3 separate regions of the Homo sapiens genome follow, and all the other regions are linked to region 3. Evidence: promoter capture Hi-C in 16 types of primary human blood cells and fetal thymus (Javierre and others, 2016). All regions are on one chromosome and are shown on one strand. Each heading gives the region's core, a stretch centred on a gene start or on the middle of the fragment in contact. The rest is flanking DNA. Distances are from core to core; before and after follow the strand shown. Region 1 overlaps PRDX6-AS1 (PRDX6 antisense RNA 1). Region 2 overlaps PRDX6-AS1 (PRDX6 antisense RNA 1). Region 3 holds the start of SERPINC1 (serpin family C member 1).

What was found. Contacts are between HindIII fragments. The CHiCAGO score rates a contact against its expected background, and 5 or more counts as called.
Region 1: a fragment that was not itself captured here is called in contact with the fragment with the promoter of SERPINC1 in region 3 in 2 of 17 cell types (endothelial precursors and megakaryocytes); the score reaches 6.3 in endothelial precursors.
Region 2: a fragment that was not itself captured here is called in contact with the fragment with the promoter of SERPINC1 in region 3 in 2 of 17 cell types (erythroblasts and endothelial precursors); the score reaches 6.0 in erythroblasts.

The regions. Positions count from the first base shown.
Region 1 is chr1:173,435,956-173,439,655 of GRCh38, reverse strand. The region is part of intron 1 of PRDX6-AS1 (PRDX6 antisense RNA 1); the gene reads left to right. All of the region lies in intron 2 of LOC100506023 (a long non-coding RNA gene), which reads left to right. It also overlaps a transcript of TNFSF4 not described here. Among named protein-coding and RNA genes, the nearest start is that of PRDX6-AS1, 24 kb to the left of the region's middle. The HindIII fragment of the contact is 2,784 bases long and covers 1,038-3,700 here.
Region 2 is chr1:173,414,086-173,418,242 of GRCh38, reverse strand. It overlaps PRDX6-AS1 (PRDX6 antisense RNA 1), which reads left to right. Exons shown (of 2, transcript NR_125960.1): 2 at 1-454. All of the region lies in intron 2 of LOC100506023 (a long non-coding RNA gene), which reads left to right. It also overlaps a transcript of TNFSF4 not described here. Among named protein-coding and RNA genes, the nearest start is that of PRDX6-AS1, 45 kb to the left of the region's middle. RefSeq lists enhancers at 1-61, 1,870-1,919, 1,950-2,079, 3,540-3,589, 3,650-3,809. The HindIII fragment of the contact is 3,801 bases long and covers 1-3,481 here.
Region 3 is chr1:173,915,900-173,919,764 of GRCh38, reverse strand. It overlaps SERPINC1 (serpin family C member 1), which reads left to right and starts at 2,438. Exons shown (of 7, transcript NM_000488.4): 1 at 2,438-2,546. The coding sequence starts at 2,506. It overlaps LOC124904457 (a long non-coding RNA gene), which reads right to left and starts at 3,265. Exons shown (of 2, transcript XR_007066739.1): 1 at 2,825-3,265. The HindIII fragment of the contact is 6,307 bases long and covers 1-3,865 here.

The DNA of each region.
Region 1 (3,700 bases), core at 1,180-3,679, 480 kb after region 3:
TTGGTGTTATTTAGCTTCTTGTCACATACAACTTTCTTCTCTTCTTTCCTTCAATTGTCCCTTTCCTCCTGACTTCTGTGAGGGATAGCAGGATTGAGGCCACAGGCTGCCACTCAGGGCATTCACTCTCTGATAAGAGTCAGTAAGGCAGAGCCACTGGTGCCCCCTGAACCCCTGCTGCAGGTGGGCAGAGGCTGGGCTGCTAGTGTGGTATCCAAAGGACAGTAGCTGTGCTCACTATGGCAGAGTCTAATTTTGAGATGTTGGGGATTCTGGAGAAGAAACATTTTGTGTGCTGCTGAGTCATTAGGAATTGACCATTATAGGTAGTAAATAGCAGAACAGAAGAAAGAAACAAGACTGATCATGAAATAATTGGAGCGAGGAGTTCTGCTGACTGTAACAATGTAAGACATTTGCATGTACATTGTGTGGTTGATTAGGAAAGAAGCTCTTTGTTCTGAAATGTCTTCATCAGTGAAAGTTGAAGAGATATGCTCAGCTGGGATACAGTGAACTCAATCTACTCCTCCAGGACTGGATCTGCAGAACTCAGATCTACCTTCCATGACAGCTTCTGGCCGTTGGCATACAGAGCTCTCCTCTCTCTCTGCACGTAGCTTGTCACTCACTCAGCTTGTATTGATGGGGTGGGGCAGTCTCAGATTGTTTTATAGGTGCAATTATTTAACTTCTTTAGATGAGGGTTGTGCTTTATGTTACTCTCTGAAGCCTCATTTATTTGCCACATGGTGGGTACATGAAGATACATGCTAAATGAAAGTTGTGCAAAGAGCTCTGAACTTGGAGGCAGATGACCTTGGACTTTTACTCAGTCTGTGTTACACATGAGCTTGGATAAGACTGATCTTTCAGCTTTCTTCAGACCTTAAGCATGAGATATAAAACAAGTAGAACATATAAATAAATAGAAGAAAATATACACAAATATTACATGATCTTTGAATTGTAAGACTCACTAAGCATAAATGCCACTGAAGAAACCACAAAGAAGAGATTTGCCAGTATGGAAAGCTTTTTAATTCTATATATCAGAAAATATAATAAAATTAAGAGGCAAATGACCTATTGAGAAAAATACTTCTACTTGGTAAGTCGAAGTATAGAAAATAAGCAAAAGATACAGTTCACAAAGAAAAAAATACAATCAGCTGATAAATATATGTGGTCAAAGAAGTACACTTTAAATCTACAGTGAGATACTTTTTAATCAGCTCAAATTTTCAGGGGGACCCATTCAGTCTTATATGATGCTGGTGGAAGTGGAAATTTCCTGGAGCAGTGTGTATTAAGAGCCATAAAAATGCTATTTCCTTGAAGTTAACAAGAAACTTGCTAGACCTGTATGAAGGATGCCAACTTAAAACAATTTATAAAATGTATTTATTTATTTTTTTCATGTTGTATAGGTTTTAATGTTTTTGAAACAAAATTAACCCATGGTAGACTTTGGTGGACAATGTGAGTCTTCTACCTAGATACTCTCTAATTTAGTCAGGGTTTAATTAAAGAAATAGAAGTACTAGGATAAAAATGTATTTGTTTTTACTGGGGGACATACCATGTTTCTGAATGGAAAGATTCAGTTTTGTAGGTATACAAATTTTCCCAAATTAATATTTAAGTTTAGTGCAATTCCAATAAAAAATTCTAGTGGGATTTTATTGGGGAGGGGCAGGTGTGATGGGAATTGATGATGTGATTTTAATTTTTCTTTTATGTTCTGAGTAAAACATTTTCTTGGGGTGCAGAAAATTTTATGATGGAAGAATAAGAAAACTAAGAATATTTTGAATAGGAACAATAAGTAGGAAAAATGTTTGCAATGGGATATTAATATGTATTATAAACCCACAGAATCTGAAGACAAGAGTGATGGACTGTATATAGATGGAACAGAATAGAGTGACCACATATGAACCCTAGTGTATGTGGGAATTTAGCATGTGATAAAAATGAAGAAAAATACAGTGAGGCAAAAGGTGGTTTTGGGTCAATTGAGAATCAGTTTGGGAAAAAGTAACAATAGATTTTTACCTAAAAGAGTACAAGAAAACAAATTCCAAATGGAATTAGTTAAATGTGGGAGAAGGACACTAAAAAACTTGAAAATAAAGATGAATGCCTATATAATTTTGTAGTGAGAAAGACCTTTGTAAGTACAGAAAAGCTGTAAAGGAAAAGACTGATAGAACTGGTTATATAATAACTTAAAGCTACAAACTAAATTAATAAGCAAATAATTAATAATAAGCTATTTACAACAAAAAAATTAACAAAGTTAAAGTACTTAAAAAAGAAAAAGCCGAGAGACCTTGTCTGGCCACCCTCAGGTTGGGTAATTCACAAGAATGACACACAGTACTCAGGAAAGCAGTTTTATTATGCTTACAATTTTATTATAGCAAAAGGACACAGATAATAAAATCAGCAGAGGGAAGCGACATAGGGCAGAGCCTGGAGGGGTCCATGCACAGGGCTTCCCATCTTCCTCTCTCTACAGAGTCATGGATTGTGTTACCTCCTGGTTACGATGTGTGACAATACATACAGAATACTGCCAACCAGTGATGCTCACCTGAGCCTTTGATGTCCAGAGGGTCAAAGCCCTCACCATAAATCACATCTCTAGACTGGTGGCCAAAGCCCTCAGGCCAACAAAGATACTCATAACACGCTGGGCATTCCAGGGGCCTAGAGATCACCTCCCGGTAGCCAAAAGCCCTAAGTTAATTCTTCACTACACAGAAACCTATCATTTTATCCCTATCAAGTTGACAAAGTGTACCAGATGCCATCAGCGCTGGGACACATTTCTGGACATTTCAGCGCTCCCCATTAGATTTCTAAGGGCAGTATTTGCAACTCCATGCCTGAGGGCTTAAAAAAAAATGCTGAAGGCCCTGTGCCCTTTTCCTTAAGTAGCCCTCACTTGGCAGTGGCTCACACCTGTAATCCCAGCACTTTGGGAGGACAAGGCAGGTGGATCATGAGGTCAGGAATTCAAGACCAGCCTGGCCAAGATGGTGAAACCCCACCTCTACTAAAAATACAAAAATTAGCCAGGTGTGGTGGCAGGTGCCTGTAATCCCAGCTACACAGGAGGCTGAGGCAGGAGAGTTGCTTGAACCCGGGAGGGAGAGGTTGCAGTGAGCCAAGATCATGCCACTGCACTCCAGCCTAGGTGACAGAGTAAGACTCCGTCTCAAAACAAAACAAAACAAAATGGTAGCCCTCACTTAATGACTTTTGGAGTTGTCATGTAAGACCTTAGCCCTTTAGGTGGGATAATGCTGGGGCATTTTGTATTATTTCCCAGAGTTTCTCTGCAAGATTAAGTTCCAGTTGCCCACTGTGATAGGTGGCTTAGTAATGCACCCTTTATTGGCTGCCTTCGCTTCTGGTTACTTCTTACCCATATCCATCCCTCTGTATTTCTGTATTACTCAGATAAACTGCCTGCACTTGAATCCTTGTCTCAGTGTCTGCTTCTGGGAGATAACAAACTAAGACATAAAATTTAAAATGAAATTCAGAGGTGGCATGAGTACATGGAAATAGATGTTCTTCTCTGCTCCTTTGTGGAGTGTAAATTGGTTCAACCTTTTTGGTGGATACTTGGGAAATATTTATCAAGTAGCTTTAAAATATGCATAGTCTTTAACTTAGTAATTCTACT
Region 2 (4,157 bases), core at 332-2,831, 500 kb after region 3:
GTGCCGTGGGCAGCTCAGTAACAATAGCTCTGCTGCCTACCAGCTGCTGGTGGAGGTGTTGAGAATACCTAATGAGGAAGTCAGGGCCCCTGCGTGCTTCAGCAGAGCTGGATGCCTGGCATGGCAATCAATGGACACAAACCTTTGGATAATTTCCGTCCTTGGCGGTGTGTTCTATAGCATAGGTATGAAGTGGGTGCTCTGGGAGCTCAGAAGAGGGGCTCTTCTCTTAACTTATGGGTGGCCAGGGAAGGCTTCCTGGAGCTCAAATGACTGAGTGGAGTCTTCAACATTAAAAAAAAAAAAAAGAAAAAAAAAGTGCTTCCCTCCCACCCCCAGTTAAAAAGGTAATACACCTCATTGAAATAATTTAAACTTTACAGAAATGTGTTCCTTTAAAGTTCAGAGAGTAAAGAGGAAGTAATAAAGCTGAAATAGTAGAATTTCTAATTAACTGGAGCCTGTAGCTTTCTTCCTGAAAAGGGAGTGGTGTGTGTGCATGTGTGAGTGTGTGTAGGTGAATCTGTAAAGGATGGAGTAGTACTAAAAAGAGGGAGGTGAAGACGGAGGTGAGATCTCATCTTTGTGCCCTGAACCTCTTTGTTATAATGTCAGGCAATGAGAGAAATCAGTACTCACCCTCTATGGGACTCTGGCTTTTTCAAACTTGGTTTTCTAGGTTTTGGTCTTGGTTATTGATGGCTTGTAACTTCAGAGTCTCATTGCTGGCCACGCTTCCACGTGGTTTATTAAGATGTTTTCCTAAACAAAATTGATCTCTCCCTAAAAAAATTATAGGTCTAGCTGTAAGATGTTAACAATATTTAACCTGCTACAATGCCAATAAGAGTTCTTGTTTATTGAAGACTTTTTTTGCACCAGCTATGTGCTAAGAGCTTTACATTTGTTACCTCATAACATCAACCCTCACACGAACCTTATGAAGCGGGTATTTCATTATTCCCACATCCCAGATAAGGAAGCTAGGATTATTATTGCTGCACCCGCAAAGCTGATAATCAGTGGGGCTCGGCCCCAAACCGAGGTGTCTCTGACTCCTGGGTCTATGCTCACAAATGCACCATTCCTCTGCATTATTTCTCAAAAATATTTGGCTATAGGAGCATTTTCAAAAGTGAGCACCACTTACCTCTTAGTACTGTTATTAGCATTCCGTGGGACACAATTTGGGAAATACTGCCCCAGGAAAATACTGCCCTGTCTTTAAAATAGAGATAATAATACAATCTCCATATTGTGATGATTAAAAGACGTTTCAGGAAATGGGTGCTGAGGATACTTACCTTCCACCAGGAATGTGTGTGTGCTTTAAAAATAACATTTGTGGCCGGCCACAATGGCTCACAACTGTAATCCCAGCACTTTGGGAGGCCGAGGCGGGTGGATCGCTTGAGTCCAGGAGTTTGAGATCAGCCTAGGCAACATGGCGAAACCCTGTCTCTACTAAAAATACAAAAATTAGCCGGGCATGCTGGCGCACATCTGTGGTCCCAGCAATTCAGGAGGCTGAGGTTGCAGTGAGCCAAAATGACATCACTGCACTCCAGCCTGGGCAACAGAGTGAGATCTTCTCTCTCTCTCTCAAAAAATAAATAAATAAATAAATAAATAAAAATAAAAAAATAACATTTATAATGTCCTCAGTGAAAGGAAGCAATGTTTTGGCCAGGATGATAATGAAGATATTGTTACTGGGCTGGGAGACCCTTGGGCCCTGTTGGGGAGGGCCCTGTAAGCTGCCACTGCCCACCCTCCACAGGTGCCCCTTTGGTCCCCTTCCCTCTCCTCTGCCCTCTGGTTCTCTCCGTCATCCCTCTGTAGTGCTTGTCTTTGTTCAGGAAGATGCTCCATTTGCCTGCCTCTGGGCAGGGGACTTGCTTTAAGCCACGCTGCTGCCTACTCAGGCCAGCCCAGGATGTCTCCTTTGCAAATTTGGACCATGTTCTGAGCCCCAGCTGTAGGCCAGAGATCTGTGACATATTGGGCAGACCACCCACAGCCCAGCTGCTGCCACTGCTTAGCCTACATGTGCCCAGAGAGCTACACTATCACCACCCACCACATCTCACCGACAGACCCTGCCTTTAGAGACAAGGACCAACCTAGGAGAGCCTGGGTTGGCTCTACCTCCCTGGGCATTGATTTGGACAGCTCACCAACTCCCAAAGGAGCCAATCTTCTGGCCTGGTTGGCTCCCAACCTACTCCCTGCCCCATCGGTTTGCTGCAGAGGCCCGGTGGACCTGGCAGTCCCACATCATGACATTCCTTTTCTTCCATGCACCAGTTTTGCACAGCTGTCATTTTTCTTTCATAATTTCATCAGTCCCACAGATACGCACATTTAGGCAAAAATACTATGAACAAAACAGACAAACAAAAACAGGCCCTCAACCCAGCTCCTGAATACCAGTTAGAAAGAGCATTTGCATTCTTCTCAGTAAATATCAAGCATACTAAAAAAGAAAACAAATTGTTTCACTTACATTCTTACTTGCACCTGTGAGGGAGCCATTGTTACTGTCATTTCATGCATGGAAAGGCTGAGGGTCACAGAGGTTAGCTGATTTGCCTAACGTCGCAGAGCTGAGAACACCAAAGTCAGGGCCAGGATAATTATCCAGTGTTTGTCCCTCTGCCAAGTGCTGCCCCTTGGACTTGGGGCCCTCAGGCCATCAAGACTGGGGCCCTTTGCTCCTGGAGTGTCCCAAATTGATAGTGTAAGGGTGGTTCCGATTGAGTCTGACATGCTGCTAGGAACCCTCTGTTTTCTTCCCTTTATTCTCTTCTATCTTCCTTTTCCTAAGGCTCATCCCACTGTCCATTCTTCATAGGCTTCAAGGTGCTCTTTGACTTTTCTCTGTAGCTAGGCCATGGGACTTTCAGGTGTCACCCATCCTCCCACCCACTCACTTGCCTCTTGACAGTGCACCAGCTGAGGCACAACTATGTGTTGGGGAGATATGTAAGGAGAAATGTGAGACGTGGTCTTGCCCCTAATAAACTGTTAAAGAAAAATTATCCTGATATCTGTGAAAAACAGCAACGAACACTTTATTCAAGGCTATTGCAGTAAGGGTCAAGATTATTGCAATAGGTGAGAGGATTGAAACCCAAATACATCAGGGATAAGGGGGGATTTACAGCCAATCAGCACGCTGGGGGAGTGGATGGAAAATTACTAACAGGAACTTGATTAGGTGGAGGAAGAGGAGCTTGATTGGATGTTGAGGGTGAGAGAATCTCAGTAAATGGACTTAACAAGATTCATTGCTAAAACTTGGCTCATCAGGTCAAGGGCAAGGCCTAGTTGAGAAGAAGGCTTCAGGGAACCCGACTAAAGTTTGGTCAAGGAGGGAGTCTTTGCCAGCACTCACAAAGTCATATGAGAGTCAGGACCCAAACACAGGACCCAAGCTGCTACGAGGCAGTGATGTGCCAGCCATGGCATGGCTGAAGCTTGGAGAGGAGCCAGTGGATATATCTGGGTTATTCCATCCCCTCGCTCCAGGGCTGACTGGCAGACAGTCACACTGGCTTCATCTCAGGTTCATTCATTTCTCACTGCTCTATGATACACCATACTTTTCTTCTACTTCATACTTTGAAGCTTGAATTTCCAAGATTTGATAAGAAAGACTGAAAACCATAAGCAGACTGAAAAGTGCCAAGGCTTTATCTAGATCTTGGACAAGAACTTTAACCTCATGTTTCTTGTTTGCAATATTGAGACAATACTTGTTACAGATTGAATTGCGTCCCCCAATAATTCATTTATTGACTTAACCTGCAGTATGACTGTATTTGGAAACAGGGCCTCCAAGAAGGTAACGGTTAAATGAGGTCATAGAAGGTGGGGCCCTAATCTGGTGTCCTTGTAAGAAGAGGAAGAGATACCAGAGATCTTTTCCTCTGTGCACACACAGAGGAAAGGCCATGCAAAGACACAGTGAGAAGGTGGCCGTCTGCAAGCTAGGAAGGGAGGTTTTACCAGAAACAGAATTTTCTGGCATCTTGACCTTAGACTTCTTACTTCCAGAACTGTGAGAAAATAAAAATGTCTGTGGTTTAAGCCCTCCAGTCTGTGGTACTTTGTGATGGCAGCCTGAGCACACTAGTACAATACCTATCCTGTGG
Region 3 (3,865 bases), core at 1,189-3,688:
ATACCACCATGCCCAGCTAATTTTTTTTTTATTTTTTAGTAGAGACAGGGTTTCACTGTCTTGGCCAGGCTGGTCTCAAACCCCTGACCTCAAGTGATCTGCCCACCTCAGCCTCCCAAACTGCTGGGATTACAGGCGTGAGCCACCACGCCTGGCAGAACACTTTTAAAATATATATATAATTTAATTTTTAACATTTGAGACAGGGGCTCACTCTGTCACCAAGGCTGGAGTGCAGTGGTGTGATCACAGCTCACTGCAGTCTGAATTCCTGGGCTCAAGTGATCCTCCCACCTCAGCCTCCTGAGTAGCTGGGACTACAGGCTCATGCCACCATGCCCAGCTTATTATTATTATTTTCTGGAGATGGGGGTCTCACCGTGTGTGGGGTCTCACAGTTGGTCTTGAACTCCTGGCCTCAAGCCTTGGCCTTCCAAAGTGCTAGGATTACAGATGTGAGCCACTGCATCCAGCCTGGATGAACAAATTAAACACAAACCCTGATGTTATAGTTCTTAATTCCTTGACCTGGTAGTATCTGCATCCTAATCTTTTCCAGCGATGTTCACCAAATCACCTATATTTTTGCAGGGCCCCTCATCTGCCCTCCCCCAAGGACCTTCTTGGCAAGACACAAACCTCATAACTCCTATAAGCTGGAACAATAGGTCTCAACAGCATGTTCCTGAAACCTCAAGGTCTTTGTATTTCTGATTTCTCTTTGGACAGCTCTTCCTAAAGATATTCATATGGCCCCCTCCATCATTTCATTCTGGTTTCCTAACAATGATTCCTAAGGGAGGCCTTTCCTACCAAGTGTTCTCAGATGGTGCCCTCCCCACTTCCTCCCACTGCTTCCTATATCCTTGCCCTGCTATAGTTTTCTCTATGGACCTTATTAACATCTGACTGGCACGTTACATATTTATTTTTTAAATACTGATTTTTTTTTTTTGAGATGGAGTCTTGCTCTGTCACCCAGGCTGGAGTGCAATAGCACGATCTCGGCTCACTGCAACCTCTGCCTCCTGGGGTCAAGTGATTCTCCTGCCTCAGCCTCCTGAGTAGCTGGAATTACAGGTGCCCACCACCATGCCCAGCTATTTTTTGTATTTTTAGTAGAGATGGGGTTTCACCAGGTTGGCTAGGCCGGTCTCGAACTCCTGACCTCAGGTGATCCACCTGCCTCAGCCTACCAAAGTGCTGGGATTACAGGTGTGAGCCACCACGCTTGGCCTAAAATACTGATTCTTTATGTGATTGCTGTATGTCTCCCCCGAATGGAATCCCAGCCCCAAGAACAGTGTCTGCTGGCACAAGCAGCACTCGTGTATTTGTTGAACTCAAGTGGTTGAACAGGAGACTTTTCAATAGTCTTTAATCTAGGGTGACAGATGAGCCTCTGGGCATTCTGGGGCCCTTTGGGACAGTTCTCGGCTACTGTTCACACTGCACATGGAGGGCTTCAAAGGATCCAGGGTCTGAATCAGCCAAGAACTTAGACACAGCTTCAGTTCAGGAGAGATGTCCTCTCTCATGAACGAAGAGCTCTCGAAAATGCCTATGACTGCAACAACAACTACAAGGAGTCCTTGATCACACAGCAGGAGGCACATGCGCCCTGTGAACTTGGTGGCTGCAGTCCTTGTGATGGTGCTTTTGGCTATTTCAGAAGAGGGAAATGTAAACAAACCTGCCCTTTATCTCCACTAGTTTGAATTTACCCAATCTCCCCAATAACTAATAAAAATAACGATACACATAAATATAATTTAGTTTGTTTTTATTTCAGCAGTTGTACGTGGGTTTTTCACCTGCCCCGCATTCTGTCTCCTGATCCCCCAGTAGAGTTTTGCTAAGTATTTCCCAGCTGCTCACACCCCTTAGAAACGCGCTTGGCATGCACCCCGAGGCCCTGCTCTTCTCTCCCTGTCCCACCACTTCAGGGCTGCTGGGGAATGGGTCTCTCTGTGGGCCACAGGTGTAACCATTGTGTTTTCCTTGTCTGTGCCAGGGACACCTTGGCACTCAGATGCCTGAAGGTAGCAGCTTGTCCCTCTTTGCCTTCTCTAATTAGATATTTCTCTCTCTCTCTCCCTCTCTCCATAAAGAAAACTATGAGAGAGGGTGGGTATGAACCAAGTTTGTTTCCTTGGTTAGTTTCCTAACCAAGTTTGAGGGTATGAACATACTCTCCTTTTCCTTTTCTATAAAGCTGAGGAGAAGAGTGAGGGAGTGTGGGCAAGAGAGGTGGCTCAGGCTTTCCCTGGGCCTGATTGAACTTTAAAACTTCTCTACTAATTAAACAACACTGGGCTCTACACTTTGCTTAACCCTGGGAACTGGTCATCAGCCTTTGACCTCAGTTCCCCCTCCTGACCAGCTCTCTGCCCCACCCTGTCCTCTGGAACCTCTGCGAGATTTAGAGGAAAGAACCAGTTTTCAGGCGGATTGCCTCAGATCACACTATCTCCACTTGCCCAGCCCTGTGGAAGATTAGCGGCCATGTATTCCAATGTGATAGGAACTGTAACCTCTGGAAAAAGGTAAGAGGGGTGAGCTTTCCCCTTGCCTGCCCCTACTGGGTTTTGTGACCTCCAAAGGACTCACAGGAATGACCTCCAACACCTTTGAGAAGACCAGGCCCTCTCCCTGGTAGTTACAGTCAAAGACCTGTTTGGAAGACGTCATTTCAAGTGCTCTCCCTCCCACCCCACCTCTTGGGGTAAGGCCTTTCCTAAGCTACCCCTTGGGTCCCTAGCCTAAGAAACAAGGGGGATGTCATCCCTGGTGTAAAGATGCTGTGCAGGAAGTCAGCACTCACGGGATCCAGGGGACGCTCCAAGGGGAATCCCCAGGGCCTGCCATCCATCCGGGAAGAGAGCAAATGCTACCCATGAGGACCTCCTCACTCCCTTTTTGCTCTTTCTTCCACTCAGATCCACCCCACTCCACCCCCACCCAAATCCCAGTGACCTTTGACTAAAGGGCCAAAACTGCTTCCTTTTCTCACAATGAGAGTTGTCCCTCCCTCAATGCCACACACACTCCCTTCTTCATCTGAGTTGTCACAGGAGGCTAGAAACGGGGTGGTGGCACAACTGTCTTGGTTTTAATTTGTGCTTCATAGCCCTCCCAGGGTCCTCTCAGCCTCAAATTGCATTTCCAAATGTAGTTGAAGGACAGAGTGGGCAACCGAAGGCAGTGGAGATGGGAAGATGAATGGCAGGGTCCTCTCCTCTCTCTCTCTGCTTCTTCAGCCTGCCTTCCACATCTCCCTTGGTGCCGCTGCTTCTCTCCGGCTTTGCACCTCTGTTCTTGAAAGGGCTGCAGAACTGGACTCAGACCACGCAAGAAGGCAAGTCCCCCTCAGCTGCCCCAGCTTCCAGCCAGCCCCAGGCTTGCCCAACGGACCACGTCCGTGAATCTGCACTGGGTGCCTGTCTTTCTCTCCCAGGAGAAGATGGGAAGATCCAGTACCCACACACAGACCCCCTTGTGTACACGCAGGAACCATAAACCAGCTGGAGGCAGCCCCTGCCCCACCCTGTCTTATCTACAAAAAATATTACAAGAGACTTTATCTCTTGATTTGCTTCATCGAGTGTCCCAACTACCTCATTTTTTTAAAATGTGAAATTAGCTTCATTTACCTTCATTGAATCCATGTTGGCGACTATTAAAAATTCCAGGCAATAAAAAGGGATGAGAGCCTGAACTAAAGCAGTGGCAATAACTGGTGAAAGAGTAAAAAAACAGAACTGATTGACTCTGGGGTGAACTGATTGACTCTGGGGTTTGACTAAATGAGGAGGAGAGAGGGAGGAATCCAGGGTGATTCTCAGGTTTCTGTACGGGATTCACT